3 separate regions of the Homo sapiens genome follow, and all the other regions are linked to region 3. The links are contacts of gene promoters, found by promoter capture Hi-C in blood cells and fetal thymus (Javierre and others, 2016). All regions are on one chromosome and are shown on one strand. The core of a region is centred on a gene start or on the middle of the fragment in contact, and the rest is flanking DNA. Distances in the headings are between cores, read along the strand shown. Region 1 overlaps HK2 (hexokinase 2). Region 2 has its middle 8.1 kb from the start of LINC01291. Region 3 holds the start of M1AP (meiosis 1 associated protein).

The links. Contacts are between HindIII fragments. The CHiCAGO score rates a contact against its expected background, and 5 or more counts as called.
Region 1: a contact is called between a fragment that was not itself captured here and the fragment with the promoter of M1AP in region 3, in 4 of 17 cell types (naive CD8 T cells, naive CD4 T cells, total CD8 T cells and 1 more). The highest score is 6.2, in naive CD8 T cells.
Region 2: a contact is called between a fragment that was not itself captured here and the fragment with the promoter of M1AP in region 3, in 1 of 17 cell types (neutrophils). The highest score is 6.7, in neutrophils.

The regions. Positions count from the first base shown.
Region 1 is chr2:74,873,533-74,876,262 of GRCh38, reverse strand. HK2 (hexokinase 2) reads right to left here. Exons shown (of 18, transcript NM_000189.5): 6 at 2,320-2,419; 7 at 1,814-1,997. Among named protein-coding and RNA genes, the nearest start is that of LINC01291, 34 kb to the left of the region's middle. The HindIII fragment of the contact is 684 bases long and covers 1,026-1,709 here.
Region 2 is chr2:74,899,480-74,902,179 of GRCh38, reverse strand. No RefSeq gene overlaps it. Among named protein-coding and RNA genes, the nearest start is that of LINC01291, 8.1 kb to the left of the region's middle. The HindIII fragment of the contact is 4,070 bases long and covers 1-2,700 here.
Region 3 is chr2:74,647,051-74,649,750 of GRCh38, reverse strand. It overlaps M1AP (meiosis 1 associated protein), which reads left to right and starts at 1,421. Exons shown (of 11, transcript NM_001321739.2): 1 at 1,421-1,486. The HindIII fragment of the contact is 10,572 bases long and covers 1-2,700 here.

The sequences.
Region 1 (2,730 bases), core at 118-2,617, 230 kb before region 3:
TTCCAAGGTTACCTTTCCGAGAGGAAACCCAGGCCTCCAGGAAGCAGCCTGCTCAAGACCCAAGGCCGAGTACAGCAGCATCAGGGCTAACTGAGAGCTGGCAAAATTGTGAAGATGACAGCGCGCATTTTAAATGTTAGTGCACCCACACAGGCAGAGCTTCAGGAGAAGGAAACCAGCGTGGATGGGAGCCTGGCTTCAACAGTAAGGAACTCCGTGTTGCTAAGTTTTTATTCTAGTTTTTAAAAACACTTTGTTCCAGTCAACATTTGGAAGATACTTACTTGGAAATATATTAGAGGGGACAAAAATTGTCTGTAGTGACTTCAGGGCTACCATGGATGACAATTTGGTGGGTGTCAAAGGATAAGCCGGGGGTGTGCTGTCATGGTCTGGCTGGCAAATTTGTCTTTTGACATTTGAAAGGGCCTTTAGTTCCTCGGAATGACTTGGGTGTGCCTCATTCATGGAGGCAGGCACTGAGTGACTTTTCAGCTCATAAACCTCTCATCAGCCATGGCAGACACAACCAGTATGATCCTCAGAAATTTCAAGTAAAGGACTCATTTCAACATGTGAAACAAGCTTGTGACTTAGATAAATAAACCATGCTTTGACAAAGCAAGGACTCTCAGGCCGGGCGCGGTGGCTCACGCCTGTAATCCCAGCACTTTGGGAGGCCGAGGAGGGCGGACCGCCTGAGGTCGGGAGTTCGAGACCAGTCTGGCCAGCATGGTGAAACCCTGTCTCTAATAAAAATACAAAAATTAGCTGGGCGTGGTGGCAGGCGCCTGTAATCCCAGCTACTCAGGAAGCTGAGGTAGGAGAATCGCTTGAACCCGGGAGGCAGAGATTGCGGTGAGCCAAGATTGCGCCATTGCACACCAGCCTGGGCAACAGAGAGAGACTCTGTCTCAAAAAAAAAAAAAAAAAAACGAAAGCAAGGACTCTCCTGGGTTACCCACCACTGACTTGATTTATAGGGTTCAATTTTCCTGTCCAAGTAGAGATCTGCACGAAAAGCTTTTCTACAACAGTCACAAGACCAGAGATGATCTGTATTGCTCAAAATATTTTGCAACTGCTTCAGACCTTGAAGCAATCCCTGTTTCAAGATCTTTCACACGCACATTTGGCAAATGTTTGTGAGGGTGAAATAAGGTTTTGTAAGAGATAAAAGCAACTAAAAACAAAGGCAGGCCAGGCTGGAGAATACAATATTCAGGATCCAAAATGCTAGACGCCCCTCCTCCAATCCATCCCAGGACATAGTTGGGCCAAGGTCCAAGTGAAGGAGGCCAAGGAAGCTCCTCAGCCAATGTCTCCAGGGGCCATGGGTCTGCCTGCAGCTGCAGCAGGAGGCCCTGGGACCCCAGGGAGCAGCAATGAGCAGCCAGCTGTCAGCCTGTCCTCTGGGTGGTGATGGAGTTGGAGCTATGAAAGGAGCTTTCAGAGACCCCAATCTTGGCCACCTCAACACAACTTTCCTTAGGTGGCTCACAGTTCCCATGGACAATTTACAAATAGAAGGTGGAAAGAAAGAGCAGGGCCACCCACTTACACTCAGAATAGAACCTTCCAAAATGACTCCTGTGAAGGAAACACATTATTAGCTATAATCTGGTATATCCGCTTGCTCTCTGTTTTAGATCCTCTCAGCAATTTATAGTCACAGACATTCCTATGACCAGTGGCCACCTTGGCAAGCTTTGGGGATGTAAGACTGTAAAGAAACAACCCCCTGGCCCCGACCAGCCCCAGACTCAGCTCCAGGCCCCCGCCAAGCCCACTCGCACAGGAAGGGCCTACTCACAGTTGCTTTCCCGGGTTCAGTGAGCCCATGTCAATCTCCTGGTCAAACTCAGTGCGAATGTCGTTGAGCGAGCCATCGTCCCCGAAGGCCCCCCACTCCATATTGATACACATCCGCCCCTCATCGCCTTCCACCATGTCGATGTGGCGCATCTCTTCCATGTAGCAGGCGTTGCTGCCCGTGCCTGCCAAAACAAGGGACGGCTATGCACACGCCTGCTCCGGCCCCTTCCCACCCCTCTTCCCTCTTATACTACTGTCCCGAGACTGCCCGGCCAGGATGGCTGGGATTTCTCACTGCAGACTCTGGGGGCATCACAATACATGGTCTAATCTTCTGCCACCCCCAACTCCATGAGTCCCTGCTCGGCTCTCCAAAGTGACTGGACCATTATCTTCTAATATGAACTACAAAGGAACACCCAGCCCATGGGCCCCTTCTCCCTTTCCAGCCCACACCCCCATCCCTTGGCCAGCACGGGCCCTTCATGCACGGTGTTCACTCACCCACAATGAGACCAATCTCACAGTTGTGGTCATCATAACCACAGGTCATCATGGTCCCAACTGTGTCATTCACCACAGCCACAATGTCGATATCAAAGTCCTGTGGAGACAAATGGGAGGGCTCTGACCTTCATCATCACAGAGGGCGACTTTCCTAACACCAGCTATATATCACTCCTCCTCCTCCTCCTCCTCCTTCTCTCTCTCTCCCCCCTCCCTCCCCATAACTCCTCCTGTGATAAGACTTTTAATTCATTCTCTCTCTGAGCCATTCCACTCCCATGTCAACATCATTCCAACTTTCTTACTTGGAAATCACATTCAAGTCTTCTTCAGGTTAAGAACTAAAGAGCTTTTCTTGTGCCAAGGCTAAGATTATTTATCCATTTGATAATCTAAAAACCCCCAAAG
Region 2 (2,700 bases), core at 136-2,635, 250 kb before region 3:
CACCCTTAAGAAGGTTCTTTGTAATTCTCCCCACCCTTGAGAATGTACTTTGTGAGATCCACTTCCTGCCTGCAAAACATTGCTCCTAACTCCACCGCCTATCCCAAAACCTATAAGAACTAATGATAAGCCCACCACCCTTTGCTGACTCTCTTTTCAGACTCAGCCCGCCTGCACCCAGGTGAAATAAACAGCCTTGTTGCTCACACAAAGCCTGTTTGATGGCCTCTTCACACGGACGCGTGAGACATACACATAGCAGCGTCTGTGGATCTTTAAAAGTATGGTGCTTAGTGGATGGAAAAAAGAGACTTTTAGCCAATAGAATTTTGTAAATTTTGTGTGCATGTAAAATTTCATGCACACAATATATGCTTTATAAAAACACATACAAAAATAAGTTGCACATCAAACACAATAACACATTTGTTGATTGTAAGTAGAGAATGGAAAATGAGGATAAAAGGGAATAAGAAAATGAAAAAGCAAGAAAGGTTTATGCAAAGACTAGAAAAGGCCCGGAATAAGGCAGAACTATAAGTAATTTAGGCTTCTGCACCTGAGGCCCAAACTAAAGAAAACAAAGCAGAAAGGAAAGAAAGAAAAGGACCCAACAGGCTTGGAAGAAGGTGGAAAAGCAATTTCCAAGCAACAAACAACTTAGGCACAGACCACCCATTTCTTTGAAGGTTTAGGATAAAGAGAAAATCTTTCCCCTTCACTCTCTGAAGGTTTGCAAAGATGAACTGACAAAAGGCAGATTAATTGGAGATAAAATGCATACAAATTTATTTTAACATGCATAAGCACAGGATAATCACAAGAGTATTACCCAATAACCCAATGAGGTCCAGATGCATATATACCCTTCTTCATAAAGGAAGAAGAGATGGGGAAAATGTGGCAATTTTTTTGAGGGATAATAAATCGGTATTAGGGAGAATGACTGGACTCAAAAGACAGAAATTAACTTGTAAATAATTCCCTTTGAAATTGAATGAGCCTAAGAGGCAGACATTATTTTGTGAAAAAGTCTGTCCAGGTGTGGTTGCATTCCTCAGGCTTCTTTTCTGAAATAGATAATGAAATATCAGGGAGAGGTTAGAGGACAGTTGTGCTCTCCCAGTTGGGTCGTCCTTATGCAGATAAAGGGGTATTAGAGAAAAGCCTCATCCTATGCTTTGGACAGACAGAGGCTTGGGGCAGGAGGGGAGCATAGAGAGCTCCTGAAGCTGCTTCTTTATTTGGCATGTCCATGCACCTTATATTGGGGTATTGTTTTCTGAGACCCAACATTCCCTGTCTGAAACTTTCCTAGAAGGTTTATATATTAAAAATTTTGTGAGTAGCTGTGGACAGAAAAATCAAGTTAGTAGCTGAATGGCAACGGGTCCCATTCAACCAGCCTCGCACTCTTGGGAATAGACCAGTTCAATAAATGGTTGGCATTGCAGATGGGATCTCAAAGGTAGGCCTCCATACATGATTTGGCAAAAAGATCCTTAATTAGAGGCATTTCTATGGAAATAAGAAAAACAAATGTCTGCAGTAGTCTATAAGCTGGTTCCTTTAGAGTCTAGAAGGCAGTCAGTTAAGAAGATTTGTGGCAATCTGACAGATTTTTTTTTGTTTGTAGTTTGCATGCACAAAGTTTGTCCAAATATAAGTGTCAGAGGCATTTGAACCAGAGCAACTTCATCTTGAATATAGGCTGGGTAAAATAAGGCTGAGACCTACTGGACTGCATTCCCAGGAGGTGAGACATTCCTAGTGACAGGATGAGATAGGAGGTCAGCACAAGATACAGGTCACAAAGACCTTGCTGATAAAACAGCAAATGGTAAAGAAGCTGGCCAAAACCCACCAAAACCAAGATGGCGATGAAAGTGACCTCTGGTCGTCCTCCTTGCTCATTATATGCTAATTATAATGCATTAGCATGCTAACAGACACTCCCACCAGTTCATGACAGTTTAAAAATGCCATAGCAACATCAGCAAGTTACCCTATATGTCTAAAAGGAGGAGGAACCTCAGTTCCAGGAATTGCCTACCCCTTTTCTAGAAAACTCATAAATAATCCACCCCTTGTTTAGTATATAATCAAGGAATAGGGCCAGGCGCGGTGGCTCACACCTGTAATACCAGCACTTTGGGAGGCCAAGGCGGATGGATCACCTGAGGTCAGGAGTTCGAGACCAGCCTGACCAATATGGTGAAACCCCATCACTACTAAAAATACAAAAATTGGATGGGTATAGTGGCGGGTGCCTGTAACCCCAGCTACTCAATAGTCTGAGGCAAGAGAGCTGCTTGAACACAGGAGGCGGAGGTTGCAGTGAGCCGAGATCACATCATTGTACTCCAGCCTGGGTGACAGAGCAAGACTGTCTCAAAAAAAAAAAAAAAAAAAAATTCAATAAGCAAAAATCTTTACTCTTTAATAGATACTTAGTTTTTCAAGTAATCAAAAGAACTAAGAAAGACAGCATGAGGCATACAGAGTCTGTCTCTCTCTTCCCTTTTAAAATTTCTTTTGTACTTTGTGCAAAAGGTGAACAGCCTTTTATTATCTTATTGATGCAAGAAAATCTTATTTAAAAGGGAAAAACAAATTTTACTTTTGTTTCATCAATACTAAAGCTAATTTTAATGAAACCTAATAAATCCACTCAATCTCAGTTTTGACCACACAAAATAA
Region 3 (2,700 bases), core at 172-2,671:
TTGGAAATGAGTTAGTTATTGAGAGAGTGGGTTTGTTGTAAAAGTGAGTTCAGCTCCCTATTGCTGTCTTGCTCTTTTGTACCCCTTGCCCTTCTGCCTTCTGCCATGGGATGACACAGAAAAAATGCCCTCACTAGATGTGGGATTCTCAACCTTGGAATTCCTACCCTCCAGAATTTAAGAATACATTTCCTTTATTTACAAGTTAGTTGTTCTGTGGTATTCTGGTATAGCAACACAAAGGGGAGTAAGACAGGTAATGCTGGGGTTGAGCCTAGTAAGGTAGGTGGGGTCAGTTATAATGGACCCTCTAACCGAAAAGGAAACATAAGCCATTTTTAAGACAAAGAATGATATGATCAAAATATTTTTACAAGGACAATTCTAACATCAGTGGAAACGATAATCTGGAGATTAGAGACAGAAAGGCTAATTTGGACTATATGGGGGGAAAGAGCTGTTGAGAAGCTACCCTTTAAACTGAAACACAGGAACTCTATTGAATATCAGATTATAGTGTTTAAAAAAGGACATAGGTTAAATAGTTCTGTTCTTACCTGAGGAACAGTTGATAGGAGCAAAATGGTTTAGTGGGACTAGAATACAAGCAGGCAACTCTTTTCCTGTTGAAACATCTAACCTATCCTGTGCCACTCATTGAAATATTGCCCCACCCCACCTCCAACCTGCATCTAGACAATGAACTGAGAAAATAACAATAATAATAATAAAGAAAACAAGGAAAACTGCTTGTACATTTCTAGCTTGGAACTAGCATTATCTTTCCCTCTCCTGTGGACTAATTCAGAGAATTCCTTTTTAACCAGAGTTGAAGACCCAGACCAACCAACTGTTAAGGACCAGGACGCTCCTACCCCATCTGGAGTTCGTCAAAGGGACTATGGGAATCAACCTCAAGTAAGCGAGAATGAGTATGAAGAGAGCGACAGACCCTCTTGGAATACAGGAGTTTGAAAAGACTTAAAAGAACTTTGTGAAGGCAGCTATAACTTCCATGAGGGCAGTGACCATTGTCTGTACATCCACTGTACTCCAATCCTAGCACAATGCGTGGCACATAACGTGCCCACCACAGATGTTTAGTGAACAAAATAGCGACTGGCTGAAGGAAATGATGTGGAAGGGAAAAGTTAAAACCAAGAAAACGGTCGGTGGGGGAGCTACTGGCATGTTTCATGGGAAGGGGTAGAAAAAGAAAAATGTCAGGTTTAGCACAGCATTTCCAACAAATAGACAAAATTCTACCTAAGGGACAAAGAAGGACTGTTCTCAGGGTATCTAGGGACTTGGAGACCGTTTTCCTGAAGCGCCACCTGAAGCGCACCCTGAGGCAGCCAGGCCCCGCCTTGCCCGCAGTGAGCCTCCCGCCCAGCCGCGCCGGCCTGAGGGGGGCGCCTCCGAACGCGCGGGCGCACGCTGAGAGCCGGGAGGACCAGGTGAGGGGGCCTCCGTCTTCCGAAGACAGGTACGGTTCTCCACGCCTCGGGGAGGGAGGGCAGCCCGAGAGCAGCCGGCACCACTTCGCAGGCTGGGCTGGGCGTGGGCCGAGCTCGGGCCAGTCCTCAGGCAGGTGTTGGTTGCGCTGGCCGTGGCGGGTGCCGGCGCAAGACTGACGCCGAGAGAGGCTCCGAAATCGCTGTCGGAGTCATCCCTCCGCATACTGTTCTGGGCGGCCAGGCCTGCGCGGAGTCTGGGCCCGGAGCTTCCTCCGCGGGGCCCCCAGGCCCGAGGGCCGGGCTGCTGATCCGCCAGGCACGGTAGGCGCCATGCCGAGGGACCACGGAGGCTTCAGGGAGCCACGAGAATTTTTTTTCTTCTGGTTTTGCTTTGTTTTTGAGACGGAGTTTCACCCTTGTTGCCCAAGCTGGAGTGCAATGGCGTGATCTCGGCTCACTGCAACCTCCGCCTCCCGGGTTCAAGTGATTCTCCGCCTCAGCTTCTCGAGTAAGCTGGAATTACAGGCTCCCGCCACCACGCCTGGCTAATTTTTTTATATTTTTAGTAGAGACATGGTTTCCCTATGTTGGCCAGGCTGCTCTCGAACTCCTGACCTCGTGATCCGCCCGCCTCGGCCTCCTAAAGTGCTGCGATTACAGGCGTGAGCCACCGTGCCCGGCCACGAGAATGTTTTCATTTCGTTTAAAGTGAACCCATGAAGTCAAAGAAAGTGTTTTGATTTTTTTCTCACATCAGGAGGGGGAAATGAGATTTTTAGGGCCTACAAAATCCATTAACTTCTTTTAATCTTTTTTTAATGGAGGAAGGGGTCCACGAAGACGAAAGTGCCTTAGGGCCCACGAAATCTTTAATAGGGCCCTGCCAGAGGGAGAACCATTGAATCGTTTATCACGCGACAAAGTGAATGAGGGCTTGTAAAGGGGCCCTAACCTAGAATGCTCAGCACGGAACAGAACATCCGCAGAGGCAGACACAGCGAGAAGCCGATCTGTGAGAGGTGGATCTCCCGGGGTGCGGGCAGGGGAGGGCCTAGTGTGAGGATGGAGAGTTGGGCAGAAGGCACAAGCAGAACTTTAGGGCCAGGGTAAAGATATTGGATTCTGTTTCCAGTGGTGTAATTGGAAGTCCTTGGAGGGTTTTTAGTTTGGGCATAACTTGGTGGTTTGGAGTGGTTCAAGGCCCAGTTCCAGTTTTAACCAGTTTGCAGGGAGAATTCATTAA